Linked DNA regions of Homo sapiens: region 2 is linked to region 1. Evidence: promoter capture Hi-C in human tissues and cell types (Jung and others, 2019). All regions are on one chromosome and are shown on one strand. Each heading gives the region's core, a stretch centred on a gene start or on the middle of the fragment in contact. The rest is flanking DNA. Distances are from core to core; before and after follow the strand shown.

Region 1 (6,762 bases), core at 2,538-5,037:
CTCCTACCCTACCTGTGGGTCCCAGCTTAGCTGGTACCTCCTTCTCTGGCCAGGATAGGAGCCCCAGCTTCTGCCTATCCCAGCGTTTAAAATACTGAGTTCTGGCCAGGCACAGTGGCTCACACCTATAATCTCAGCACTGTGGGAGGCTGAAGTAGGTAGGTAGGGAGGCTGAGATCAGGAGTTTGAGACCAGCCTGGCCAACATGGCGAAACTCCATCTCTACTAAAACAAAACAAAACAAAAAACATAAAAATCAGCCAAGCGTGGTGGCGTGCACCTGCAGTCCCAGCTACTTGGGAGACTGAGGCGGGAGAACTGCTTGAACCCAAGAGGCAGAGGTTGTAGTGAGCCGAGATTGCACCACTGTGCTCCAGCGTGGGTGACAGTGAGACTCCATCTCAAAAACAAAAACAAAAACAAAACAAAACAAAAATACTGAGTTGTAATAGCCACTGGTATGCCTACTCCCACCCTGCAAACCAGTGGTTTTCAACCGGGGGCAAGTTTGCCCCACAGAGGATATTTGGCAATGCCTGAGACTTTATGGATGGGCTGCTACTGGCATCTGGTGAATAGAGGCCAGGAATGCTGCTAAACATCCCACGGTGCACAGGACACTCCTTACAGCAAAGAAGTATCTGGCCTAAAATGTCTGGAGTGCTAACATTAAGCAAACCTGCCCTAGATTGGGCAATCTGTAAAGGCAGGAGTGGGGTCCTGAACACTGCATTTCCCCAGCCACTAGCCCAGAGTTGAGCATACAGTAGATACTCAATAGAAATTGAACACATATGAGTTCAGATGTTCTAGAAGATTCTTTACCCAGGATTCCAGTTCTTTTGGAATCTTCATTTGCAGTGTCTTCCCTTAAAGATAATCATTGGCCATTATGGTGGGATGAATAATAGCCTCCGAAAATATCCAGGTCCTGGATGGGTGCAGTGGCTCATGCCTGTAATCCCAAGGCTTTAAGAGGCTGACACGGGAAGAGTACTTGAGGCCGGAAGTTCCAGATCAGCCTGGACAACATACCAAGACCCCATCTCTACAAAATTAAATTTTTAAAAAATTAGCCTGGCATGGTGGCAACACCTATAGTCCTAGCTACTAGGGAGGCTGAGGCAGGAGGAACTCTTGAACCCAAAAGTTTGAGGTTCCAGTGAGCCATAATTGTACTACTGCACTATATAGCCTTGGCAACAGAGCAAAACCCTATCTCAAAAAAAAAAAAAAAAAAAAGAAATCCAGGTTCTAATCCCCAGAAATTGTGACAGCCACCATATATGATGAAAGGGACTTTGCAGATGTAATTTAATTATTTAATTAAGAATTTTTTTTTTTTGAGACAGGGTCTCACTCTGTCGCCCAGACTGGAGTGTAGTGGTGTGATCTCAGCCCACTGCAGCCTCTACCTCCCGGGTTCAAGTGATTCTCCTTCCCCAGCCTCCTGAGTGGCTGAGATTACAGGTGCATGCCACTACACCCAGCTAATTTTTGTATTTTTTGTAGAAACAGGGTTTCACCATGTTGGCCAGGCTGGTCACAAACTTCTGACCTCAAGTGATCTGCCCGCCTTGGCCTCCCAAAGTGCTGAGATTACTTACAGGTGTGAGCCATGCACTCAGCCTATAATTAAGGATCTTGAGATGCAAAGGTTATCCTAGATTATCTGGGTGGACGCTAAATGCCAACACAATAGTCCTTATAAGAAAGAGGCACGGGGGAAGTGGGGAGGGATAGCATTAGGTGATATACCTAATGCTAAATGACGAGTTAATGGGTGCAGCACACCAACATGGCACATGTATACATATGTAACGAACCTTCACGTTGTGCACATGTACCCTAAAACTTAAAGTACAATAATAATAAAAAATAAATAAAATAAAAAAAAAGAAAGAGGCACAGGGAAACTTCACACACACACACACACACACACACACACACACACACGTCACCTGACCATGGAACAGAGAGAGATGTGAACATGCTATAACACTGGCCTTGAAGACGGAGGAACAGGCCACAAGCCACAGAATGCCAGCAGTCACCAAAAGCTGGAAAAGGCAAAGAATGGATTTTCCCCTAATTCTTCCGAAGGGAGTGTGGCACTGCTGCCACCTTGGTTTCAGCCCAGGAACACTGACTGTGGACTTCTGGCCTCCAGAACTGCAGGAGAATAAACTTCTTTTGTCTTAAGCCAAGATGATAATGGTAATTTGTTCTAGCGGCCATAGGAAACTAATACAGTCTATTACTTTCTGGGGTTTATTAGGTTTGAATCAGAGAGTTTGATTTTAAAAACAGAGACTTTACAAGGAATGGCATTTGGGTGCCAGGGCTCGTCCCATGCCTACTGGCTCTGATAGCTGGAAGCAGAACTGGGTGGGTGAGTGAGGCTGAGCTGTGGGTGTTTCTAGAAGTGGCTGCCGCCTGGGCCATCGGCAACCACGTTCACAGGTCATCCCTCATGCCTTGGTCATGCCACCTTCTGGGATGCTAGAGGTCTCAGGCAGTTAAGTGACTTGACCCAGGACAAGTCTGTCTAGCTAGACTCAGCAGGGATTAGAATAAAACTCCAAGCTCTCTTCCACTTGTCCAGCCCACTGCCAAGCTTGCTCCCCTCTGGCCTCAGTGGCTTTCTCTGATCTTACAACATAGCCCCAGGGCCTTTGCGCTTGCTGTTCCTTCAGCTTGGAACACTCTCCCTCTGGAGTCTCCCATGGCTGGCTGCTTCTCATCATTCTGGTCTCAGCTCAAATGCCACCTCCTCAGAGAGGCCCTCCATGGCTGCACTAAGGCAAGTGGCCTTCTCTAGTTACCTTCTCTTTCATCACAGGGCTGATTTTCTTCTCACATTCAATTATCTCATTAATCTCCTTGCCTGTTCAACATCAACTCCACCCCTTCTTCCTCCCTCTCCCAATGCAGGCTCCAGGAGGGCAGGGACTTTGTCTGATGTGTCCACAGATATGTCCCCAGCCCCAGACCTGGCACACAGTAGGTGCTCAATATATTTTGAATGAATGAGTGAGTAAATGAATGAATTTGCAGCTTTGGGGAACGCCTGACCCAAGCTCCATCCCAACACACCTGATCTTGGCTTTCCTAAAGGCCAGCTCCTCCTCGTTTCCAAAGTCCAGGGACACATCCTCGGTATCGTCCACCAGGGCCTGGGAGGAGAGCAAGGGCAGGTGGCAGGCCCAAGCACGGCGCACACCCCAACCCCACCCGCCCTGTCCTCCTGGGCTTGGACTCCACTTGCACCCCACCGGGTTCCCAAGTGGACCCTCCGAGCTGGCGGGGCCCCTCCGCTGCGGCTGCAGTGCAAAGCCCTCTCCACCCTCCCGACCACCGGGTGCAGCCCAGCCCCAGGCCCCGGCGCATCCCTCCTCCTCCTCCCGGCTTCTCCAGCGCTCCCGCAGGCTCCCCTCGTCCCGCCCCGCCTCCAGCCCCAGCATCCCCGAGGCCCTACCTGCTTCATCACCCTCCCAGGAGCCCACCTGGCGCCCAGGCCCGGGGCTCCAGCTCCGCCCGTCGCCGCTGAAGGGGTCGGACGCCGGGCGGGCGGATGTAGGCAGCAGACGGTGGACGCTGAGGGTCGGGGCCTGCGCCCTGTGGGGCAGCCTCAGCGCAGCTTCTCGGGTGGGGCGGGGCGCTCGGGGCCTAAGGCGCAGTCGCAGGCTGGGGAGGGGGCTCGGCTCGCCGGGGACGCGCCCAGGAGAGAAAGCGGCGGCAGGGAGGCAACGGCCTGGGGAACTGCGGACAGAGATAGTGGGAGGAATGGGAGTCGGGGGCGGGGGGCGGCTGCGTCAGCGAATGGTGTGGACGGCGCATAAACGTGGATGTAGCGAATGATAAGGCAGTGAATGAATGTCAGTGGTGGGCAGCCGCATTCAGGGTTGGGAGAAGGTCAGTGTTTCCCAACAGTCTCTGCGCGCAAGAAATTCCCAGGAACCTTGTGAAAAGCAGATTCTCAGGCCCGGCCCGGGGGATGTGGAAGGCCTGGAGTGGGGCCCTAGAATCTGCCTTCCCCGCGCCCCCACCCCCCACGACAAAATGCAGTTAGGATGGGCCCTGCTGTGTTCTTTTTTGGGGGGTGGGGTGGGGAAGGCAGATTCTAGGGCCCCACTCCAGGCCTTCCACATCCCCCGGGCCGGGCCTGAGAATCTGCTTTTCACAAGGTTCCTGGGAATTTCTTGCGTGCAGAGATTGTTGGGAACATTCTCTGCACCTAGGCTGGAGAGCACTGGTGCCATCGTAGCTCACTGTGGCCTCAAACTCCAGGGCTCAAGCAGTCCTCCCGCCTCAGCCTCCCGAAAAGCTGGGACCACAGGCTGCACCACCACACCTAGCTAAATTTTTATTTTTGTAGAGAGGAGGGTCTCACTATGTCGCCCCGGCTAGTCTTGAACACCGAGGTTCAAGCCATCCTCCTGCCTCAGCCTCCCAAAGTGTTGGGATTACAGGAGTGAGCCACCACACCCGGCCTCACCTGCCTTTTAAGGGGTGGCGCTGCTATAGCCACAGCTTCAGAACCACAGTGAGATCTGCGTGCATCGCCGTGCCAGGCACTTATTAAGCGCAAAGTTATTAGTAGTATTAATACTATTATTGACAGTAATAGTAGTGTTTCTTGAAGTGAAAGTCTTCCTGGGTACCTCCCAGGAAAGAAAACTTGTCACCTGAGGGTCTTTCCTGGCCCAGGACACAGTGACTCTCCTCTCCTGCGTGCCCTCTCCCTGTCCTGATCCCCCACCCACGGACAGAGGGCTGAGCATCGAGATGCCAAAGCCAGTGACCCTGCCCTTTGCCCTCCCACCATGGACAATAGGTACGTGTCCCCTGCCCCTGGTGACCCCAAAGAGGGCTCCTGGGCCACAAGCCCCTGACACATTTTCCCCACTGCTGGTCTCCATGGGCGGAGGTGGAGGCAGGAGCTGTCTCATCTCTGATCCTGGGCCTGGGTTCCAGGCTTTCTGTCCTCCGCCCCCACCCCAATTCCCTAAGCTGACCCCACAAGGGCCTGCCAGGTGTGTGTGGAGGGAAAGTGCTTTCTCCTATGCCATTTCTCTTTTTTTTTTTTTTTGAGATGGAGTTTCCCTCTTGTCACCCAGGCTGGAGTGCAATGGTGCGATCTCGGCTCACTGCAACCCCTGCCTCCCGGGTTCCTGCAATTCTCCTGCCTCAGCCTCCCAGGTAGCTGGTATTACAGGCGCCTGACATCAACCCGGGTAATTTTTGTATTTTGTATTTTTAGTAGAGAGGGGGTTTCACCATGTTGGCCAGGCTGGTCTCCAACTCCTGACCGCAGGTGATCCACCCACCTTGGCCTCCCAAAGAGCTGGGATTACAGGCATGAACCACTGCACCCAGCCTCTACTATGCGATCTTCAGGAACCAAGATTTATATATATACAATGTGTATATATGTGTGTGTGTATGTATATATATATATATATATATATATATATATATATATATATATATATGTATATGTATATATATTTGCCAAACTCTGCTGCGATTTGGATAGCTTCTAAAAGACACACTGCCCAGATTGTGTTATGGACCAATTAAATCAGGCTCTCTGGGGATGGGACCCTATACCAGTGCTTTTAAAGCTCCCAGGTGTTGGGCTGCAAGGTAAAGAACCAGTGATTTAAATGAGTGCTTCTGACCCCTCAATCTGCAAATGAATCTCCTGGGGTTGGCTTAGAAGCTGGATGCTGACTCAGCGTTCTGGGGGTCTGGGGGTCTGGGCAGGGGCTGAGATTCTTTCTTCCTTTCTTTCCTTCCTTTCTTTTCTTTTCTCCTTCCTTCCTTCCTTTCTTTCTTTCTTGAGATGGAGTCAGTGGCTAGATCTCAGCTCACTGCAACCTCCACCTCCTGGGTTCAAGTGATTCTTGTGCCTCAGCCCCTTAAGTAGCTGGGACTACAGGAACATACCACCACGCCTGGCTAATTTTTGTGTTTTTAGTAGAGACAGGGTTTCACCATGTTGGCCAGGCTGGTCTCGAACTCCTGACCTCAAGTGATCTGCCTGCTTCAGCCTCCCAAAAGGCTGGAATTACAGCCGTGAGCCACCACATCCGGCTGAGATCCTGCATTTCTGAGAGCCCGTGGGAGAAGCTGATGCTGCTGCTCCCTGGACCACCCTTTGAATTGTAAAGATCTAAACCACCAAGGCCTGGTTTTCTAGAAAGGCCTGTGAGCTCTTCCTGCCCAGAAGGGTGAACGGAGAGGCCCACTCCCAGCGGGGCCCCAGCAGCCTGGGAAGGGGATATTGGGAGGAAGGAGGCAGGAGGGCAGCTGGAGGGAAGAAGCCGTTGCAGAACATTTAGGGGCTTTTTCTCTGACCCTAAGAATCACCAGCTGTTGGTGTCTGTTGAGTTGGGGTTCCTGGAGTCATGGGAAAACCCCCGTGGAATCCCCAGTCAGGACCAACTGTCATTCTCAGCCACTGGGTTGGAGGTTCCTCCAGAAATATCCTCAGCTCCTGCCATCTGGAGGTGGCTCTATAAATACAGGGTCACTTCCATCCCTCCTGACCTGTCCACATGGGGCAGAGGGCTGAGGATACAGATGCTGGGGCCACATATGAAGCCCTATTATTCCCTCCTTGGAAGAAAGCACCCTCCCTCTACACGTGGCCCAGACGGCCCTCTGTGGGGTCAGCTTCCTGAATCTGAGGGGTGGGCAGAGGGCCTGAGGGTTGCACAGAGAACTCATCTTGGTTTTAAAACTGGCTGCGGCAGA
Region 2 (6,896 bases), core at 3,304-5,803, 42 kb before region 1:
CAGAGCCTGCACTCAGACAAAGAAAGCAAAGGTCACTTTTTTTTGAGACAGAGTTTCGCTCTGTCGCCCAGGCTGGGGTGCAGAGGCACGATCTCAGCTCACTGCAAGTTCCGCCTCCCGGGTTCACACCATTCTCCTGCCTCAGCCTCCCGAGTAGCTGGGACTACAGGCGTCCGCCACCAGGCCTGGCTAATTTTTTTGTATTTTTAGTAGAGACACTGTTTCACCATGTTAGCCAGGATGGTCTCCATCTGACGCAAAGGTCACTTTCTAAGAGCATTTACAGAAATGCACCTCTCAAGCCACGTAGAAATGCTCTAGCCTGCACCTAAGAATAGTAACAGCCAACATTTACTGAGCATTTGCAAATACCCACGGACACCTCAGAATCATTACAACTGGAGAGGTTGCCACCATCATCATCCCATTTTACAAAGAGGAAACTGAGGCTCAGGAAGACGAAAGCTGCCCAAGGTCACAGAGCTGGAGCGTGGTCGAGCCGGGATCCAAATTCCAGGGCCCGCACTTTCATTAAATGACACTGTTGTTTTACTATCTACAAATATTTTGTTTTCTCTATTTATTGATTTTTTTTAAGACGGAGCCTCACTCTGTCACCCAGGCTGAAGTGCTGTGGCACGATCTTGGCTCACTGCAACCTCCGCCTCCTGGGTTCAAGCGATTCTCCTGCCTCAGCCTCCCAAGTAGCTGAGATTACAGGCGTGTGCCACTACGCCCAGCTAATTTTGGTATCTATAGTACAGACAGGGTTTTGCCATGTTGGCCAGGCTGGTCTCAAACTCCTGACCTCAGGTGATTCACCTGCCACAGCCTCCCAAAGTGCTGGGATTACAGATGTGAGGTACTGTGCCAGCCTGTGTGAGTCCATTTATATGAAATGCCCAGAATAGGCAAATCCACAGAAACAGAAAAATTAATAGGTGCCAGGGCTTGGAGGAACAGAAGCACAGGGAAGCAATGTCAAAAGGGCGCAAGGCTTCTTCCGGTGATGAAAATTTCCTAACATTGATGGTGGTTTTGGCTGTACAACTCTGTGACTGCACTAGAAGCCACTGAATTCCACACTTAGTATTTATTTTATTTTTTGGAGACAAGGTCTCACTCTAGCACCCAGGCTGGAGTGCAGTGGCACAATCTTGGCTCACTGCAACCTTTGCTTCCCGGGCTCAAGCGTGCACACCATCATGCCTGGCTAATTTTTGCATTTTTTGCAGAGATGGGGTTTTGCTATGTTGCCCAGGCTGGTCTCGAACTCCTGAGCTCAAGCAATCCTTCCACCTTGGCCTCCCAAAGGCCTGGGATTATAGGCGTAAGCCACCATGCCAAGCCCCTAATTGTATACTTTAAATGGGTAAATTGTATGGAATGTGTATTATATCTCAATAAACTTGTTATAATTGATCAATCAATCAATAACAAATAACAACAAAAGCCTAGTGGTGCAAACACTTTTTTTGCAGAGACATCAAAGCAATGTGGAAGTCAAGATCTGGCCTTACCAGCCACTTTAGCTTCAAGGAAAATAAGGTGCTAAAAAAAAACACAATCCATATCATGGGGCAGATTATGAGGCCCAGCCAGAAGATTCGTGCTTCAGCTTCTGTGGCAGCAATGCTATTCGGAGAGACCTGTTAAAGGAAAGTAATTCAAATGTCAAAACAAGTGGAAATGGTTGCAAACGAGCGTGCTCACATTTTCATTTATTTTATTTTGCAGATGCTTTTGTTGCTGTGGGATTTTTTGTTGTTGGTGTTGTTTTGTTTTGTTTTGTTTTTGAGACAAAGTCTCATTGTGTCACCCAGGCTGGAGTGCAGTGGCGTGATCTTGGCTCACTGGAACCTCCGCCTCCTGGGTTCAAGTGATTCTCCTGCCTCAGCCTCCCGAGTAGCTGGGAATACAGGTGCCTGCCACCACGCCCAGCTAATTTTTGTATTTTTAGTAGAGACAGGGTTTCACCATGTTGCCCAGGCTAGTCTCAAACTCCTAACCTCAAGTGATCCACCCACCTCCGCCTCCCAAAGTGCTGGGATTGCAGGCGTGAGCCACCACGCCCGGTCTATTTTGGAGACACTTTTGCCACACCCATGTTTCACCAGAGCACCTTGGCAATGGTGGCTTTTGTGTAAGGCAGGAATCAGATATGCACAAAACTCCAAAGGAACCCACAGAAACTTTCCACACCCATTATCCCCGCTCTGGTTAGTTCAGCTCGTCATGGAGAATACCTTCCTGGCTTCAAAGATCCAGTGGCTCTTCCCATCTTCATCTATCTGGTTCCACCATCGAAGGCCCACCAGGAGTCTTCCGGTTACATTCTGAGAACAATAGACAAAGGACTCTGAGCAGGTCACAGGCAAAGAGGCTTATTCACTGTATTGATAAACAAAAGTTCCTTGATTCATTTCAGACTTGTACTGGGAGCAGGAAGAAAAAAGGCCTTGAATTGTAGTGGATTCTCAGATGTCAAGACTTCTAGTTTTCAACTAAGCTTACTTTAAAAAGTTACACACTCCCCCCACAAAACATATATAATTTATATGTTCATATTATATATGTTTTAAATATATGTATTAATTCGTATACAAGTGATATGGTTTGGCTGTCTCCCCACCCAAACCTCATCTTGAATTGTCGCTTCCATAATTCCCACGTGTTGTGGGGGAGACCGGGTGGGAGATAATTGAATCATACAGGCAGTTTCCCCCACACTGTTCTCATGGTAGTGAATAAGTGCCACGAGATCTGATGGTTTTTATAAGGGAAACCCCTCTCACTTGGCTCTCATTCTCTCTCTTTTTTTTTTTTTTTTTTTCCGAGACAGAGTTTGACTCTTGTCACCCAGGCTGGAGTGCAATGGCACAACCTCGGCTCACTGCAACCTCCGCCTCCCGGGTTCAAGTGATTCTTCTGCCTCAGCCTCCCAAGTAGCTGGGATTACAGGCACACACCACCGCGCCAGGCTAATTTTTGTATTTTTAGTAGAGACGGGGTTTCTCCATTCCCCTTACTTTTAAGTGACACTGCTCAGCACTCTTAAGCATGTCTCAGGAGTCTAAACCAAAGTACCTCTTGGTACCACGCACACAGGGGACAAGCCTCGTGTTTCGGAAGTGATGACATCACACGAAAGGGCCTCACCTTCACAGACCAGAAGTCCAGGGACAGGAGGAGCAGCACCATGACAAAACAGCCCACAAAGCTCTTGCTGAACCAGTCGCAGCTCACGTAGGTGACGATGGCACTCACTCGGAAAAACAGGTGGAAAAAGGTGGCCAAGGGGTGTCTAGGAAAGGACCCAGAAGGCGCCCTCACTCCAAGAGCTAAGCGGATGGTCACTGAACTCCCTTTACCACTTCAGACTTTGCTGGGGGTGTTAGCGTGGCTCAATGGAATGTTCTCCCCGGTGCATATGACGCAGAAACTCAGGCTGTAGCCCTGGGGACACATCATTAGGTCAGCAGTCCCCAGACAGTCATGCTGACACTGTTTTTTTTCCTCCCCTTCGAAGAATCCAGTACTTTCCCGCCACTTGACTCCAAATATCACTTGCCCTCTTCGAAACACGGTCATCTTTGAAGTGAAACGTGACAGCAGTCACTGCCTTCCCGCCTAGCAGAGATGACGGCCAGTTCCCTAAAGGTAAAGGTTGGGTTTTTCCACCACCAGTCACTGAGCTCCAAGCTCACACGCAGCCCACGGGGCAGGTGTCTCATGTCATCGGGGAATGCGTGTTCCTGGACAGAGGGAAACATGTGACCTGTGAATGGCAGGTCTAACTCATCATACTTGCTCAGTGGTGAATGGCACGTGAATCCTGGCATTTAATCTAGGGGAAGGTGGTTCTTGTTCACTGTGCCTTTAGACACAAACCTGGCCAGAAAGAAGAGAGGGAGCCAAGGGGAACATGCTCATCCTGTGTAAATTGCTTTTCTTTTTTTTTTTTTTTTTTTTTTGAGATGGAGTCTTGCTCTGTCCCCTAGGCTGGAGTGCAGTGGCGTGATCTCGGTTCACAGCAACCTCCACCTCCCGGGTTCAAGCAATTCTCCTGCCTCAGCCTCCCAAGTAGCTGAGATTATAGGCGCCTGCCACCACGCCCAGCTAATTTTTGTACTTTGAGTAGAAACAGGATTTCAACATGTTGGCCAGGCTGGTTTCGAACTCCTGACCTCAGGTGATCTGTCCACTTTGGCTTCCCAAAGTGCTGGGATTACAGGCATAAGCAACCACGCCTGGCCTTATTTTTTTTATTATTATTATTTTTTAATGTAAGTCTGATATAGGCCAGGCACGGTGGCTCACACCTGTAATGCCAGCACATTGGGAGGCCGAGGCGGGCGGATCACCTGAGGTCAGGAGTTCAAGACCAGCCTGGCCAACATGGTGAAACCCCATTTCTACTCAAAATACAAAAATTAGCTGGGCATGGTGGCGGCTGCCTGTAACCCCAGCTACTCGGAAGGCTGAGGCAGGAGAATCACTAGAACCTGGGAGGCGGAGGTTGCAGTGAGCCAAGATCACGCCACTGCACTGCAGCCTGGGTGAGAAAGTCAGACTCCAACTCAAAAAATAAAAAAATAAAAAAATAAAAACAAGAAAAGAAAGGTTACCAAATTGTATAGAGCAGGTGATGGCAGTGGGTGATGTGGGCCAGACTGAAGACACTTGTGGGTTTCTGTTTCTTTCTGTGGTTTCCCAGTTTAAATAGAGCACACAGGTAGAGAACGATACTCAACTATGATCAGGAAATCAATGGCACGAGCCCAGTTGTTATACCAGAAAGGGTTTCAGATCCAGACCCCAAGAGAGGGTTCTTGGATCTCACCCAAGAAAGAATTCAGGGCAAGTCCATTGAGTAAAGTGAAAGCAAGTTTATTTGGAAAGTAAAGGAATAAAGAATGGCTAGTCTATAGATAGAGCAGTCCTAAGGGCTGCTGGTTGCCCATTTTTATGGCTATTTCTTGATGATATGCTAAAGAAGGGGTGGATTATTCATGCCTCCCCTTTTTCGACCATATAGGGCAACTTCCAGACGTTGCCATGACATCTGTGAACTGTCATGGTGCTGGTGGGAGTGTAGCAGTGGGGACGACCAGAGGTCACTCTCATGGCCATCTTGGTTTTGGTGGGTTTTAGCCGGCTTTTTTACTGCAACCTGTTTTATCAGCAAGGTCTTTATGACCTGTATCCTGTGCGACCTCCTATCTCATCCTGTGACTTAGAATGCCTTAACCGTCCAGGAATGCAGCCCAGTAGGTCTCAGCCTCGTTTTACCCAGCCCCTATTCAAGATGGAGTTGCTCTGGTTCACACGCCTCTGACACAGTGATGGATGAGAATGAAACCCGCACCTCAGGGCAGGGGAGGAAAAGGGAGGGATGAAAGGGACTCTTCCCAGCACCAGGCAGCTGTGCAAACCAGACCCAGTACTGCCAGAGCCAAGATTTTCATGAGAAGTCAGAAATCCAGACTTGCAATGGGAAATCTGATTTTAAATGATGGCCACTAATTCTTTTACTGAAATATCAGTCTGTGTTTCTCACTGGCCTGCGAGCAGTGAGCTTGCAACCTCTGGATTAGGTTACAAAATGTTGTGGGCTTTGGAAAATGCGGGGCCGAATGGGGTGGTCACAGAGATCCACACAGAACTGCAGGGGAAAGCGCCTGCTCATTCTCCCCAAGAAGAAACGGAGTCCGAGTCAACAAACCACAGGTGCCTCTACAACTGTGGGGCTTCCGACTCCCAGGGGAATGTTAAGATTCAGAAGCAGACTTCACAGTGACTTTTTTGCGTAGCAAAGCACCAACTATTCACCAGGATGGGTCTCATCTGAGCCTCTCAGGCTCTTGGCTCTCCTGGTGACCTGAATGAAAACCAACCCAGGAAGTGCACCCGGCTTTTAAGAATTAGACAGGATCAAGCCGGGCGTGGTGGCTCACGCCTGTAATCCCAGCACTTTGGGAGGCTGAGGCAGGTGGATCACGAGGTCAAGAGACTGAGACCATCCCTGGCCAACATGGTGAAACCCCGTCTCTACTAAAAATACAAAAATTAGCTGAGCGTGGTGGTGGGCGCCTGTAGTCCCAGCTACTCGGGACGCTGAGGCAGGAGAATTGCTTGAATCTGGGAGGCGGAGGTTGCAGTGAGTTGAGATCGTACTACTGCACTCCAGCCTGGTGACAGAGCGAGACTCCGTCTCAAAAAAAATAAAAATAAAAATAAAAGAAGAATTAGACAGGATCACCAGGTGTGGTGGCTCACACCTGTAATCCTAGCTCTTTGGGAGGCCGAGGCAGGCAGATCAGTTGAAGTCAGGAATTCAAGACCAGCGTGGCCAACATGGTAAAACTCCGTCTCTACTAAAAATACAAAAATTAGCCAGTTGTGGTGGCAGGTGCCTGTAATCCCAGCTACTCAGGAGGCTGAGGCAGGAGAATCGCTTGAACCTGGGAGGTGGAGGTTGCAGTGAGTCGAGATGATGCCACTGCACTCCAGCTTGGGCAACAGAGCAAATCGCTGTCTCGAAGAATTAGACAGGATCACATAGAACTTAAAAACTTCCTGGAGTGTTCCAGAAGATAAGACTCTTGGGTGTCTCTTTTTGCTGTAAACCTAATTGAGAATTTCCTAACTGAATAAAATTTTGTCCCTTGCCCCTGGAGATAAATAAATGCTCTTTCAATAACTGAAAGTTCTTTGAGGGCACAGACCATGTTTAACACATTTTTATATCCCCAAAAGCACCCAGTATTTAAGATTCTCCGCAAACATATTTGTTATGTTGAACCTTGTAATCGAGTCAGTTAGAATCACTGGAAACATCTGTCCTCTTTGTAGAACAATACAAATGTAAAAAAAAAAAAAAAGATAGAGGGTCG

The links. Contacts are between HindIII fragments. The study calls those that stand out against the background at their distance.
Region 2: a fragment that was not itself captured here is called in contact with the fragment with the promoter of TVP23A in region 1 in 2 of the 25 tissues and cell types used here (lymphoblastoid cells and spleen).

What each region holds. Positions count from the first base shown.
Region 1 is chr16:10,815,007-10,821,768 of GRCh38, forward strand. TVP23A (trans-golgi network vesicle protein 23 homolog A) reads right to left here and starts at 3,788. Exons shown (of 8, transcript NM_001079512.4): 1 at 3,479-3,788; 2 at 3,097-3,176. The coding sequence starts at 3,487. RefSeq lists an enhancer at 6,326-6,535. The HindIII fragment of the contact is 21,418 bases long and covers 1-6,762 here.
Region 2 is chr16:10,771,793-10,778,688 of GRCh38, forward strand. TVP23A (trans-golgi network vesicle protein 23 homolog A) reads right to left here. Exons shown (of 8, transcript NM_001079512.4): 3 at 3,160-3,304; 4 at 2,247-2,336; 5 at 1,521-1,649; 6 at 1-6. Among named protein-coding and RNA genes, the nearest start is that of NUBP1, 31 kb to the left of the region's middle. The HindIII fragment of the contact is 8,970 bases long and covers 69-6,896 here.